3 separate regions of the Homo sapiens genome follow, and regions 1 and 2 are each linked to region 3. The links are contacts of gene promoters, found by promoter capture Hi-C in human tissues and cell types (Jung and others, 2019). All regions are on one chromosome and are shown on one strand. Each heading gives the region's core, a stretch centred on a gene start or on the middle of the fragment in contact. The rest is flanking DNA. Distances are from core to core; before and after follow the strand shown.

The links. Contacts are between HindIII fragments. The study calls those that stand out against the background at their distance.
Region 1: a contact is called between a fragment that was not itself captured here and the fragment with the promoter of SGCZ in region 3, in 3 of the 25 tissues and cell types used here (adrenal gland, hippocampus and spleen).
Region 2: a contact is called between a fragment that was not itself captured here and the fragment with the promoter of SGCZ in region 3, in 3 of the 25 tissues and cell types used here (IMR-90 fibroblasts, bladder and small bowel).

Annotation. Positions count from the first base shown.
Region 1 is chr8:15,188,996-15,192,958 of GRCh38, forward strand. The region is part of intron 1 of SGCZ (sarcoglycan zeta); the gene reads right to left. Among named protein-coding and RNA genes, the nearest start is that of SGCZ, 47 kb to the right of the region's middle. The HindIII fragment of the contact is 4,527 bases long and covers 243-3,963 here.
Region 2 is chr8:15,294,757-15,299,047 of GRCh38, forward strand. No RefSeq gene overlaps it. Among named protein-coding and RNA genes, the nearest start is that of SGCZ, 58 kb to the left of the region's middle. The HindIII fragment of the contact is 5,853 bases long and covers 1-4,291 here.
Region 3 is chr8:15,236,443-15,240,443 of GRCh38, forward strand. SGCZ (sarcoglycan zeta) reads right to left here and starts at 1,989. Exons shown (of 8, transcript NM_139167.4): 1 at 1,143-1,989. The coding sequence starts at 1,181. The HindIII fragment of the contact is 17,338 bases long and covers 1-4,001 here.

The DNA of each region.
Region 1 (3,963 bases), core at 1,256-3,755, 47 kb before region 3:
AAATAGATATGCTCACAGAGATGGAAGAAACCATAAAACTATTAAAAGCTTGGTACACAGTAGGCAATCCACAAATATTTGTGTTTTTTAAGAGATTCAGGAAGATGGCCATACTTTCACTATAACGGTTTTGCTTTGATATAGATCAATCTGCATTTCCTTCAGTTTAGCAGTAATAATTTTATATGATGGATGTTCCAGGTCACATTTTAAGAGTAAACAAATTTGGAAGGTCAATTTTGTCAGAAAGTAAAGAGAACTAAGAGCAAAGAGTTTGACCAAGGTCTACACAATGACCTGTATTTATTTATTAGGTTAATATATGTTTATTGTACAAAAGCAAACATACGTTTTCTCTAGAGGAATCATGACCTCCTGAAAGAATTTTTTTGAAACACCTCCTCCAAATGGTCATTTTCACTTTTTGTAAAGAAAGCTTTCCCTCCAAAAGCTTGCCTGGTACCCAAATCAAGAGAGCCAAACAACAGTCTTAACATACATTTCTCATCACGCTCAAGGGACTCTTTGTGTACAGTTAGCATTTCAAAATACTTCATGAGGACCTTGAAGCATTTTTTTTTTTGAGATAGAGTCTTGCTCTATTGCCCAGGCTAGAGCGCAATGGCACAATCTCAGAGCCCAGCTCACTGGAACCTCTGCCTCCTACCTGAGCCTCCCAAGTAGCTGGGATTACAGGTGCGTGCTAGCATGCCCAGCTAATTTTTTTGTATTTTTAGTAGAGAAGGGGTTTTACCATGTTGCCCAGGCTGGTGTTGAACTCCTGACCTCAGGCAATCTGACTGCCTTCGTTTCCCAAAGTTCTGGGATTACAGGCATGAGCCACCACGCCCAGCCCTTGAAGCATTTTTCCAAGTAAGACTTCCTGCCATATTCAGAATTTTGTTTATTTCAATTTCTTCTTGTCTTGTCATTGATTTCCTTTGTTCCACAGTCTAAAAGCCTCACCTTGGTATTTCAGACCCATAATAACCTAGCTTCAACACATTATCTACCATTCTTTCTTGTCACTCTCCACCAAACCTCCTGTGTTATAGCCTACCTGATTTTCTCACCCAATTCTGCATATGCCAGGCACCTTCACAAACCCATGGTTTGATGTCTGCTTTACCTGAAATTCTCCTCTGTACACTCAAACCCTACTCTCACCACCATAACACCAACGGCAAAATCCTTGGCTCATTTAATTTTATATCCCTTATGGTAAAGCTTGTTATACCTTTAAGTAACCCTGATATCAGAGTGCCATCATCTGCGTAGAACAACCTATGTATATTATTTGTAAACAAATCAGGAAAGATGAAATGAAAGGATAATTCATTTCATTCATTCATTCATTCATTCATTCATTCATCTATTATGTATTTTGCACCTACCATGCAATAGGCTTGACACGGCTCAGAAAAGACAGTGGTTAAGACTCACTCTCAGCCCTCAAGTGACAGTCTAGTCAGAGAAATAGGCAAGTCAAAGATTAGAAATCAGACACTGTGGTGTACTTACAATAAAGCTTTCTTGAAAGAGTGGCCCAGAGACTTGTTTCACAAGTCAGAGTTCTTTCAGCACGAAAGAATGGTGCAAATCTACAGGTTGATATCATTCAGATGTTTTTCAGATAGTTTCAGAGCCTTCAAAGTTTTTACATAAATTCTTATTTAAAATTGTGTGGGGGGAGGTGTGCGTGTGTCGTGGGGGATGGGGTTAGGTTTGTCAGCAATCAAAAACTTGTTTTGGAGCCAAAAACTATCAACAAAGATTTGCAATTTTGTAAAAAGTCTTCTTTAGTAACTATAACACGATAAATAGTGTTTCCAAAACTGGTTTGTAGCAGCTAAATGACTACTCCTTCCCTAATTCAATCACAACTGGAAAAGGTATACAGTTAGTTCTTCTGAGTTTTAAGTGACTTAGAAATAATTAATTTCTTTTCTCAAGAGTGGACTATCTATGGATTCAGGTGTCCAATGACCTAATGTGATTCCAATCATTTTACTGTTATAAATCTTCTATTATAAAAATCAAGAATACAGTGTCAAAAAATAAAAACTCCCCAATATACTTTAATACAACAATAGTAACTCTAATTTAGATCAATTAAAAAGCTTAATAATTGTGCAGTGCATATAAAAAAATCTAAAAGGCTTTGTGTTTATTTGTTCTAGATTATTACTGCCATAATTTTCAACTAATAAATCACTAGGGTCTAAACTTAATTACATATATTGTTCAAGACTGAAAAATTCTAAATTTTCGCATGATCTAGTCTGTATTCAACGTATTTATTCTCAAAAGGAAAATTTTTTTATTCATTTCGTATTCACAAGCATACCTAGACCAGGCAGGTAAACTTGTAACAAATGATGTAGAAAATATATTTGACCAAGTTGAATGTCACCGCTTAAGGGATTTATACTGAACTATAAACTTAGGAATGTTAAATAGTATTTAACCCTGAAAACAATTTAAGATTTTAAAGGTTTTAAAGAAAACCTTATTATTTTAAACCCATCATGTTAGATCTCAAATTCTCCTTAAATAACATATCTCCACTAATTCATCATTGTTTTTGAAAATATTTCAGTCATCATTATATGAAAGTATGTGATGAGAAATACATAGAGAAAACAGACAATAAGGAATATAAAAATAACTAACATTTAGGAAATTCCTCATACGAGCTTCAGCTGTAGAGATAAAGCATGTACAAATAATATGCTAGGAATAGAAGCAGTTGAAAAAATACTGATATATTTCAGAAAAGTGAGTGAAGTCTTTGTTTAAACTTCAACTCAGTCCTACCTATTTAATTATACAAAATGACTCTAAAATATTAAAGGTAAAACAACCCAGAAGAAAAATATTAAACTTTTATCTACCCACGCTTAAGGGCTCAGATTGCTGGATTTGAGATTTAGCTCTCATTATACAACCCTGGGCCAAACTAAATCTCAGTTTTCTCACCTGTAAAAATTGCATAAAAGTAGTACCTACATCAAGGGAATGTGGTGAAGATTAAATGAGTTAATATTTAGCACTTCATAATTAGAGCTACTATTATATTCCCAGTGTTTTTACTTCTGTTATGGTAACCCCTCCCCCAGTAATGGGAATATTCTTACACCAAAATACTATTGGCTTTTGTGCTATTTCTTTATTCATGTAAAATTTTGTTCCTGAATCCCCCTCCCTGTGTAGATAGTTGCCCTGGTGACATTCTTTTATTCCTTTCAACAGCCCAAATCCCTGAAGATGATGTAAACACAGCTTTAGCTACTTCGGAACATTGTTTTGATGAGTAATGTGGGAAGAAATTTTAAGTACGCATACAAATTTTTCTTAAAATACACCTGAATTTTAAAATCAGCTTCCAAAATGCTGAAATATAACAGTTTGTTTCGTTTTAGTACATCAAAGATGCTACAAAAAATTTTTGAAAAAAGAAACACATCAATCCATTTAAATATTTTCTAGTCATTGTAACTGAGCATCAGTTGAAAATACTCATTCTTTATGCTCTTCTACAACTTTGAAATTTGGATTTCCAATTCTTTGGTATTTGGAGGGACAGCCACTAACGACTAATCCAAAGTCTCTTTCTGGTTTACTGGCATCAATGCCAAACTCATCAACAGATCCCATATGCCATGCATAAAACAAACCACCTTCACAACCATCAAGTTCTATGATAAGTTGTACAACTCCTAAAATTACCATTTCCACTGAAGTCTTCTGCCCCATTGCCATTAATCTGAGAGAGAATTTTGAGCTGCTTTGAGAAAATTCTGTTGAGTTGTGCATTCTTGTGGTTTCTCACTCCAAGAAAACAAAAGCAGCCTAACCAGTTTTGTTTTATTTTAGATATACAGAGAAAAAAGGAACATTTAAAAAAATATATTGGACTAAGGATTCCCAAAGACAGAGATTCATACCAAATATCATTTTAAA
Region 2 (4,291 bases), core at 718-3,217, 58 kb after region 3:
CTTGTACAGCAATTTTGCTCAACATATCCATCTTAGAGGTTTGTAATCTACATCAGCATTTACTTTAATTTTATTTTTTAATTAACACAGAAAACACATTTTTGGTACAAGTCTATGAATTTTAACTAACGTATGGAGTCTTATAACCACCATCCCATCCCAGTCAAGACACACATTAATTCCTTGACACTCTAAAAACCACGTTGATTTAATCAATTTACATTTCAACAACAATCTTCTAAAGTAGATGCTGTATCACCCGCATTTTACAACTGGAAAAACAGAGGTACCAAGAAGTTTAGGTCACTGTCCCGAGGCGAAACAGCTCAGAAGTGAACAAGATGGGATTTGACCCAAGAAGTTTTGCTCCAGGGCCTTCTCTCCTAGCCCCTATGCTTAAAAACAAATGCTCCCTACACCTCCAAAGCCTGGAAACCTGGTATCTTCTCTATTACTACAATTTCATATTTTCCAGAACACCATATAAATGAAGTTGTATAGAATCATATAGTATGTAACCTTCAGAAACTGGCTTTTTTTCACTCAGTATAAAGACTTTGAGATTCACCCATGCTGCTGTGTGCTTTAATAGTTTATTATTTTTATTGCTGATTCCATGGTATGGGCATACCATAATTTGTTTTTCTGTTTACCCACTGGGGGACATTTATATCATTTTCAGTTCAAAGATCATAGAGTAAACTGGTATAAACATTAACAGATAGATTTTGTGTGCATGTAACTTTTCATTTTTCTAGGACAAATATGTAGGAATTGGATTTCTAGGTAATAGGGTAAGTGTGGGTTTAATGTTAGGTAAACCGCAAACTGTTTTCTAGAGTGGCTGTGTCACATTTCATTCCCACCACCAACATACGATAATTCCAGTTTCATCCCCTCTTTGCTAGCTCTTCATATTGCGAGTTGCATTTTTATTTCAAAGTTTATTTTTTATTTTAAATTTAAAATGGCTAAAATATAAACTACTCGCAATATGAAGAGCTGGTAGCTTGGTAAACTCACAAATCACTTACCAGACCTGATTATATCTAGAAGATTCTTTTTGCTTTTTTGGAATATTCTGATAGGTGAGTAGTGGAATTTCATGATGATTTTAATTTTCATTTCCCAATTGTCTAGAGATGCTGAACATCTTTCTGTGTGCTTATTTGCCTTCTGTATATCCTCTTTGTTCATTTTAAAAATCATTGTTTTCTTGTGAACTTTAAGTATTCTTTATATAATCTGAACATAAATGCTTTGTCAGATAAACTGCAAATATTTTGTGCCAGACTAGTTTCTCTTATTTTATCTTTTATGGAGCAAAGTTTTTCGTTTCCATGAAGTCCAATTTATCAAGATTTTATGTAATGGATTTTGATTTTGTTGTCACATGTAAGTATTCTGAGACCTGTTCTTAGGTTATAAAAATTTTCTCCTATTCTACTAGAATATTTATATTTTTTTACATTTAAATCTATAATCTTTTCTGAAATAATTATTGTATAAAATGTGATGAATGTCAAGATTTATTTATTTATTTTGCTCAAAGCCATCAATTTGTTTGAGCACCATTTGTTGAAAAGATTACCTTTTCTCCATTGAATTACTTTTGCACAGTTGTCAAAAATCAATTGACCATGTCTGTATGAGTCTATGCCTGAAATATCTATTGTAATTAATTTATCTAAGTGTCAATCCCTTTACCAATACCCAAGACTCTTAATTATTGGAGCTTTCAAAATTTTTCTGACTATTCTGCTTCCTTTCCCACATCAAGTTTATAACAAGCTTGTCCACATCTATAAAAATTATTGTGGGAATTTTGATTGGAATTACCATAAATCTCTAGACCTAATTCAATAAAATTGACATTTTTTTCTAATTTGAGTCTTTGAATGCCTGAGCAGTCTCTCTCTCTACTTATTAGAAGTTTTCATTGATCTATTTTTCAGCAGTGTATTATAGTTCTTAATATAAGGATCCTGTACATGTTTTATTATGTTTATACCTAAGTATGTTGCTTGGGAAGAGTTCCTGTAACTGACACTTTTTTAAAATATCAGTTTCCAGTTGTTTCTTGTTATACTATATAAGTAAAATTTCTATCGTGTGATAATCTTGTATCTTGTGACCTTGGTAAACTCACAACTTACTTACTTGGTCCAATTATATCTAGGAGGGTTTTTTTTCTTTTTTAGTATATTCCTTGGGATTTTCTACAGACAATAATATAATTTGTACATAAAGAAAGTTTTATTTCTTCCATTCCTGTCTGTAGAATTTTCATTTCTCTTGCCTTATTGAACTCGCCAGTGTTTATAATAATATTGTGAAATGGAGTAGTGAGAATGGTGGACATCATTGTTTCATTCCTGATGTTAGGAGGAAAGAACTCATTGTTTCATAATTAAGAATAGTGCCAACTATAGGTATTCTTATAGATAACTTTTATCAGGCTGAGAAAATTCCTTCTAGTTCTAGTTTGCTCAGAGTTTTACACATTTTATTAAAATGCCTTTTCCACATCAATTGATTTGATCTTTTTTTAGACAGTTAATGTGATGGAGTTCATTGACTGATTTTCAGTTGTTGAACCAGTATTGCATATCCATAACAAACTGCACTTACTTCTGATACAGCCTTCTTTTTATGTTGCTGAATTTTATTTCAAAATATTTTGTTGAGTATTTTTACATCTATTTTCATGAGATATATTGGCCTGAAGTTTTCTTGTATTGTCTTTATATGCTTTTATCAGAGAACTGCTAGCCTTATAAAATAAATTAGAATGTGCTCTTTTCTCTTCTATGTTCTGAAAGAAATTGAGTGGAATTGATGCTATTTCTCATTTAAATATCCAGTAGATTTCACTAGTGAAACTATCTAGCCAGATGCTTTACTTTTGAGGATGTTTTCAAACTATGAATTCAATTTATTTAATAGTAATAGAACTATACAAGTTTTCTATTTAGTCTTAGGTAAGTTTTGAGAATTTACAGTTTCTGAGAAATTAGAGCTATGCGTATGCAACTCGGGGTGAGCACAATAAACAACTTTACTGAGTCACTTTTTTGAGCTCCATAATGTCCCTGGTACATTTGTTCCCCTTTATAGCCTTGGGCCAAAAACTGGAGCTTTATTTCTCTTCTTCTGCTGTATACTTTCCTGAAATGCACTCATGTCTGCAGCCAAGGGGCAGAGGACAGAAAAGGAGAGAAAGAAGTAGAGTTTTATTCCCAACGTCCTTGTATTAGTCAGGTCCCACATTGCTATAAAGAAGTACCTGAGATTGGGTAATTTATTTAAAGAAGTTTAATTGGATCACTGTTCTGCAGGCTGTACAGGAAGCATGATGCCAGCATCTGCTCAGCTTTTGGGGAGGCTGCAGGAAAACTTACCATCATAGGAAAAAGGGAGGAAGGCATCTCACATGGAGGGAGCAGGAGCAAGAATTGTGGGGTGCCACACACTTTTAAACAACCAGACCTCACGAGACCTCACTCACTATGCCGAGGAAAGTACCAAAGGAGAAATCTGCCCCCATGCTCCAGTCATCCCCCGCCAGCTCCACCTCCAACATGGGGGATAATATTTCTACATGAGATTTGGGCAGGGACGACACACAAACTATATCACTTATACCGCAGCTCCCCAGAAAGAGCCACAGCTCGTCTGAAAGGATATTAGATGTCTTCATGTCTCTGCTGCCATCGCTGTTGTGGGGACCCGTTTCCCATTCCTTGAATGTAAACCAGAGAGCTTGTCCTGGAACTCTCTGTCCATGCAGAAGTCTACTTGTGGGTTTCAGATGAGTGGGGTACAGGCCAGTAGACATAATAGAGGGAAACACAGTACACTACAGCCTTTCTAGTGGTATTTTGATTCTGATTTTTTAAAAATTCATTTGCTACTATCTACTTTTTTTAAGAGCTGCTCTGTGCATTCTGCCCTAGTTCTGTAACTACATTCAGTAGGAGAAACAGGGAGTGGGAGGAGTATGCTTACTCTGTCTTACCGAGAATCGCACTACCCTCATTAGCATTTTTCAATTCTACAAGGTCCTGCAAAAGACTTCTTTAACTGTGTTAACCTCTATGTTTTTCAGAACCCAATTTTTACCTAATATTTACTAACAGCTTGTGGAACCATTATTCCTTGAAAATGCATTTTCAAAAGCACTGTTCTAAAATAAAACTAACATTTAATAAAATTTTTGAACTATTGGTGATCTTATTATGTAAGTGCCAGAAAAATAAATACATGGAAATTATGTGACATTATCAACTTA
Region 3 (4,001 bases), core at 739-3,238:
GGGGTGCCTAAACATTCTCACTGATCAAAGAAGCCAGAATCCATCTGAACCTCTGAAATAGTAGAACGTACCAAATGCCTAGGGGTAAAGAAGGGTGGAGGATTTCAATAAAAGAGGTGCTTCCAGTGTCGCCCCCTTTCCCGCTTTTTCGTTTACGGTGAGCGGGACATTTAAAGTATTTTGTGGTTTGTTGGTTTTTTAAAGTTTTTATTTATTGTGTGTATATAAATATATATATTTTTTTTTCTTGAAGGGAAGCAGGCAGAGGTGCCCATAGGCAGAGGGGCGCGTTGTCACCCCGGATGCTCCCTCCGGGCAGGCCCTCACGGCCAAGCAGGGGACCCCAGAGGGAGAGGGCGCGGCGCGGGGAACCCGCGGAGCGGCGGGGGGCTCCAGGCTGGTGGGAGACCGTGTGCGGCCGGAGCCTCCGCAGATGCCGCCCCTACCAGCCCGGCTCCCGCCTCCCCGCCCCCTGCCCGAGTCCCCGGACCTGCTCCCGCGCCTGGGGCTAGGGCAGGCTAGCCGTCCCCGGCAGCGGGGGTACCTCTCCAGCCCCTGCACTGCAACTGCGGGAGGAAACACTGCCCGCGGGCGGTGGGAGGGAAAAGGGGTCTCACGAAGTTCTGGGATAAAAACGGGCTGTCGTTGCAGATGCCTCTGTCACGCGAATCTCCGAGCGGAAATGCACTGTCCCCGTGCCGGGCTGGGGCACAGGCGGGATCGGAGCCGGGAAGAGGAGGCAAAGTGGCGGCGCAGCTCGGACAACTTTGCTGGGAAAGCAGGCGACAGCGGGCAGAGCTGGTGCCGCTGCCCCCCCCGGGGAGACGAGCCGGCAAGAGGCGCAGGGTCTGCACCCCAAATGCTGCCGTCACGGACCAGGAGGAGGACGGGGTGGCCGCTGGCGGGAGGAGCAGGCGGGGAGGGCGCCCAGCCCGGGAGTGCAGCCTGGCTCGGGAGAACCACCCTCCGTGTCCTCGGCCCCAGCAGGGGCGCCTGCGCCCGGGTGCGCGTCCCCCCAACGCCCCCTCGTCGTCCCGCGGGACCACCAACTACTCCGCGCCGCTGGAGGAGCCGCGGGAAGGAGAGGGGAGAGCAGGGAGCGCCGAGAAGCGGCCGCGAAGCCCGCCCGGACCCGCACGTACCTTGAGCTCCTCAATGTCCAGGTTCGTTGATCTGTCCATGGAGCGCAACTAAACGAAGTGGAGAGGAACCGGGCGAGTGGCACCCAAAAACAATCTAGTCTTTTAGTTTCCAGCTTAAACTCAGCTTTATCCTCCTCCAAGCCCCGGCAGCTCCTCTCAGTCTCATTCTCCGTGGTCACGCCGCCTCCACCGGGTTAAAAATAAGGAAAATAAATAAATAATAATGATAATTCACTTTATTTTACTTCCTCAAAGATTTAGTGACAGGTGATCTCTACCGCGGTGCAACACAGCTGAGTCGATTGAAACAGGGGCCAAAAGAAAAAAGGAAAAAAAAATCCACTCTATTTAAGATTATTTCTTCTTCTGCAATAAGCTTAGAACCCAGCGAATTGCTGCATCCCGAGAAAAAAAGCTGCTTCCCTGGTCAGCATCATGCGGCAAATTTCAAGCAAATGTGTTCAAACTGAAGAGAAGAGTGTATGATAAAAGGCTTCCTCCGTCAGGCTTACTCTGGTAGGTAATTTAGCTCCAGTCCCAGGCATTAGCAATGATCAGTTTCCCCGGCAAGATAACAGAATCCCCGAAGTCCTGCATAGACTTAAAAAATGTCTTGTAGCTGAGAGGTATTTTCTCAGTGGGGAAAAGAAGATAATCAAGTCAGAAGGGAACGTTCTCCTTTGAAGGTTATGCTAAAAGAGTTGAGGGAATAGGAGGTGGATCCAACGGAGAGAAAAAGAGGGAGAGAAAGAGAGAGGGAGAGAAAAATTTTCCTCCTGCTTCGCTGTTTTACTGGCCTTCACCACCAGGTGACTGACTTCGCTTCTCTCTTCCCACAGCCAACACTAAGGGGATTTCTCTCATCTGTCAAAAAGCAACATTTCCTCTCCAGACAAATACTATCGCTGGGTCTTAAAGCCTGCCCTGTGTCCGGAATCCACTAGGTGACAATCATTTTAATTCATTGCGTACATTGCTTCATCTTCCTGCAGATCTGGGAGGAACATGCTTGTGTGTATCACCCACATGTATTTAAATATACTCACTTCAGATCTCTGCTGCTTTCAGCATCAGATTTTTTAATTTAAAAAAGACTTTTATAGAAAGTGACAGATAAGAATATTAAAGGAAATTTCCTGGAACGATGCTTCTTATGATAAAGCAGTCTTTTATTAGAAAATTGTTCTTTACATAGATTCTGACAGGTCAGTGCATTTAACTTGTAGGTTGTAGATTTGGGGAAAGGGCTCGTTTTCTTCATTTAAATGTCTCAGTGTAAAACTTGACTTTTGAAGCGTTTTAAAGACTCTTGTTTTATTATGACACATAAACTATTGAGACTTAAAGATGTTTACAGATTTGGAAACAGAGCTGTATAAATACTTTTGTTTCAAAAAAAAAGTGTTTCTTTTTTTAGGATTTAATATGCACATTCCAGTCTCATGGTCTCTCTCTAACATCATCTCCGTCCTCTGCCTCCCTGAATTCCAGCCACCTAGTCTATTGGTCCACCTGCCAGTACTGGCTCTTTAATTCCCATTCTTGCCCCCTCGTTAAGGACAGCTGTCTCTCCCCCTAGTTCTTTATAGTTTTAACACTTCTGCTTCTGACTAAAGTCACCTGAGCAGAGAAAAATTTTTCTCAGGTGAGTCTGTCAGATATTCTCCTTTATCCTCTTGTCGTAGCAGCATTCTTAATTTACCATTATTTAATGTATGCTGTTATTATCCGTTTGTTTGTTTGACTCCTCCAATAGACTATAAACTCTTGAAGGCATGTTCTGGACGGTTCTTATTCACCAAATGTCCCAAGAGCCAAGCAGCTAATAAGCACACAAATGTGCATGGAACAGATAAATGTGTGGAAAGAAACCTTTACAGTTAATATTCTAATGTCTGAAACCCTGATGACTCCCCTCCTCCCCTCACCGGCACCAATGGAGCACATCCCAGTTTTTCTCCTTCTACTTTGCAGCTAAGCCTGGAGGGCTCAGCTTTCTCATGGAGGATGTCCATTTCATTAGTTTAAGCCTAGTCTATTCCATGCACTTGCCTAAGCTATCTTTCTTTCAAACTTTGACTTCTGACTACAGCTTTTAAGATTAACATCAAGTAGCCAAAAGTCCATAATGAGTAGGGCCAAACATCAGATTCTCAAAATAAACTTCATGTGCTTATAAGACATAATTATTTTGCATAATATATGATGAAAAATAATAAAGGTTCAGGCTGAGAGTAGATGAACTTATATAAGACTTTTAACTCTAAAAAAGAGCTTCTCTTCTAGAAAGTATCAACAATTCAACATGAACAAAGATAACTACTAGGATGATGCAAAAGTAATGGCAGTTTTTGCCACTGAAAGTAATGGCAGAAAACACAATAACTTTTGCACCAACCTAATACATAGGCTTTTGAAAGTCAAGTCTTTCCATATGAAAGAATTTGAAATTCCCTGTCAACTAGTCATTGCCTAACTTTAGAAAATTGAATAAAACAAGCAAATTTATTTTGAACATATTAGCAAACTGATATTATTTAAGGTAAGTTTTCAATTTGCAGTTGTGAAAATGTAGTTCAAGGAAGGTATCCATAGAAAAATGTTGATGTTTAAATATTATTCACAAAGGGAAAACTGCAGTTTCTTAATATGACATATTATAGTTGAAAGAAAAAATGATATTGTTCTTAATTTTATGTGTGTGTATATATATATATATATATAGACTCTAATTTATCTGTAGTGAATTTTAAAATATGAAATTATATCCAACATTTGATGTTGACCAGACTGGCATTATAAGCCAGTGGTCCCCAAATGATATGGCTTCTGGGTCCCCATAGAAATCTCATCTTGAAT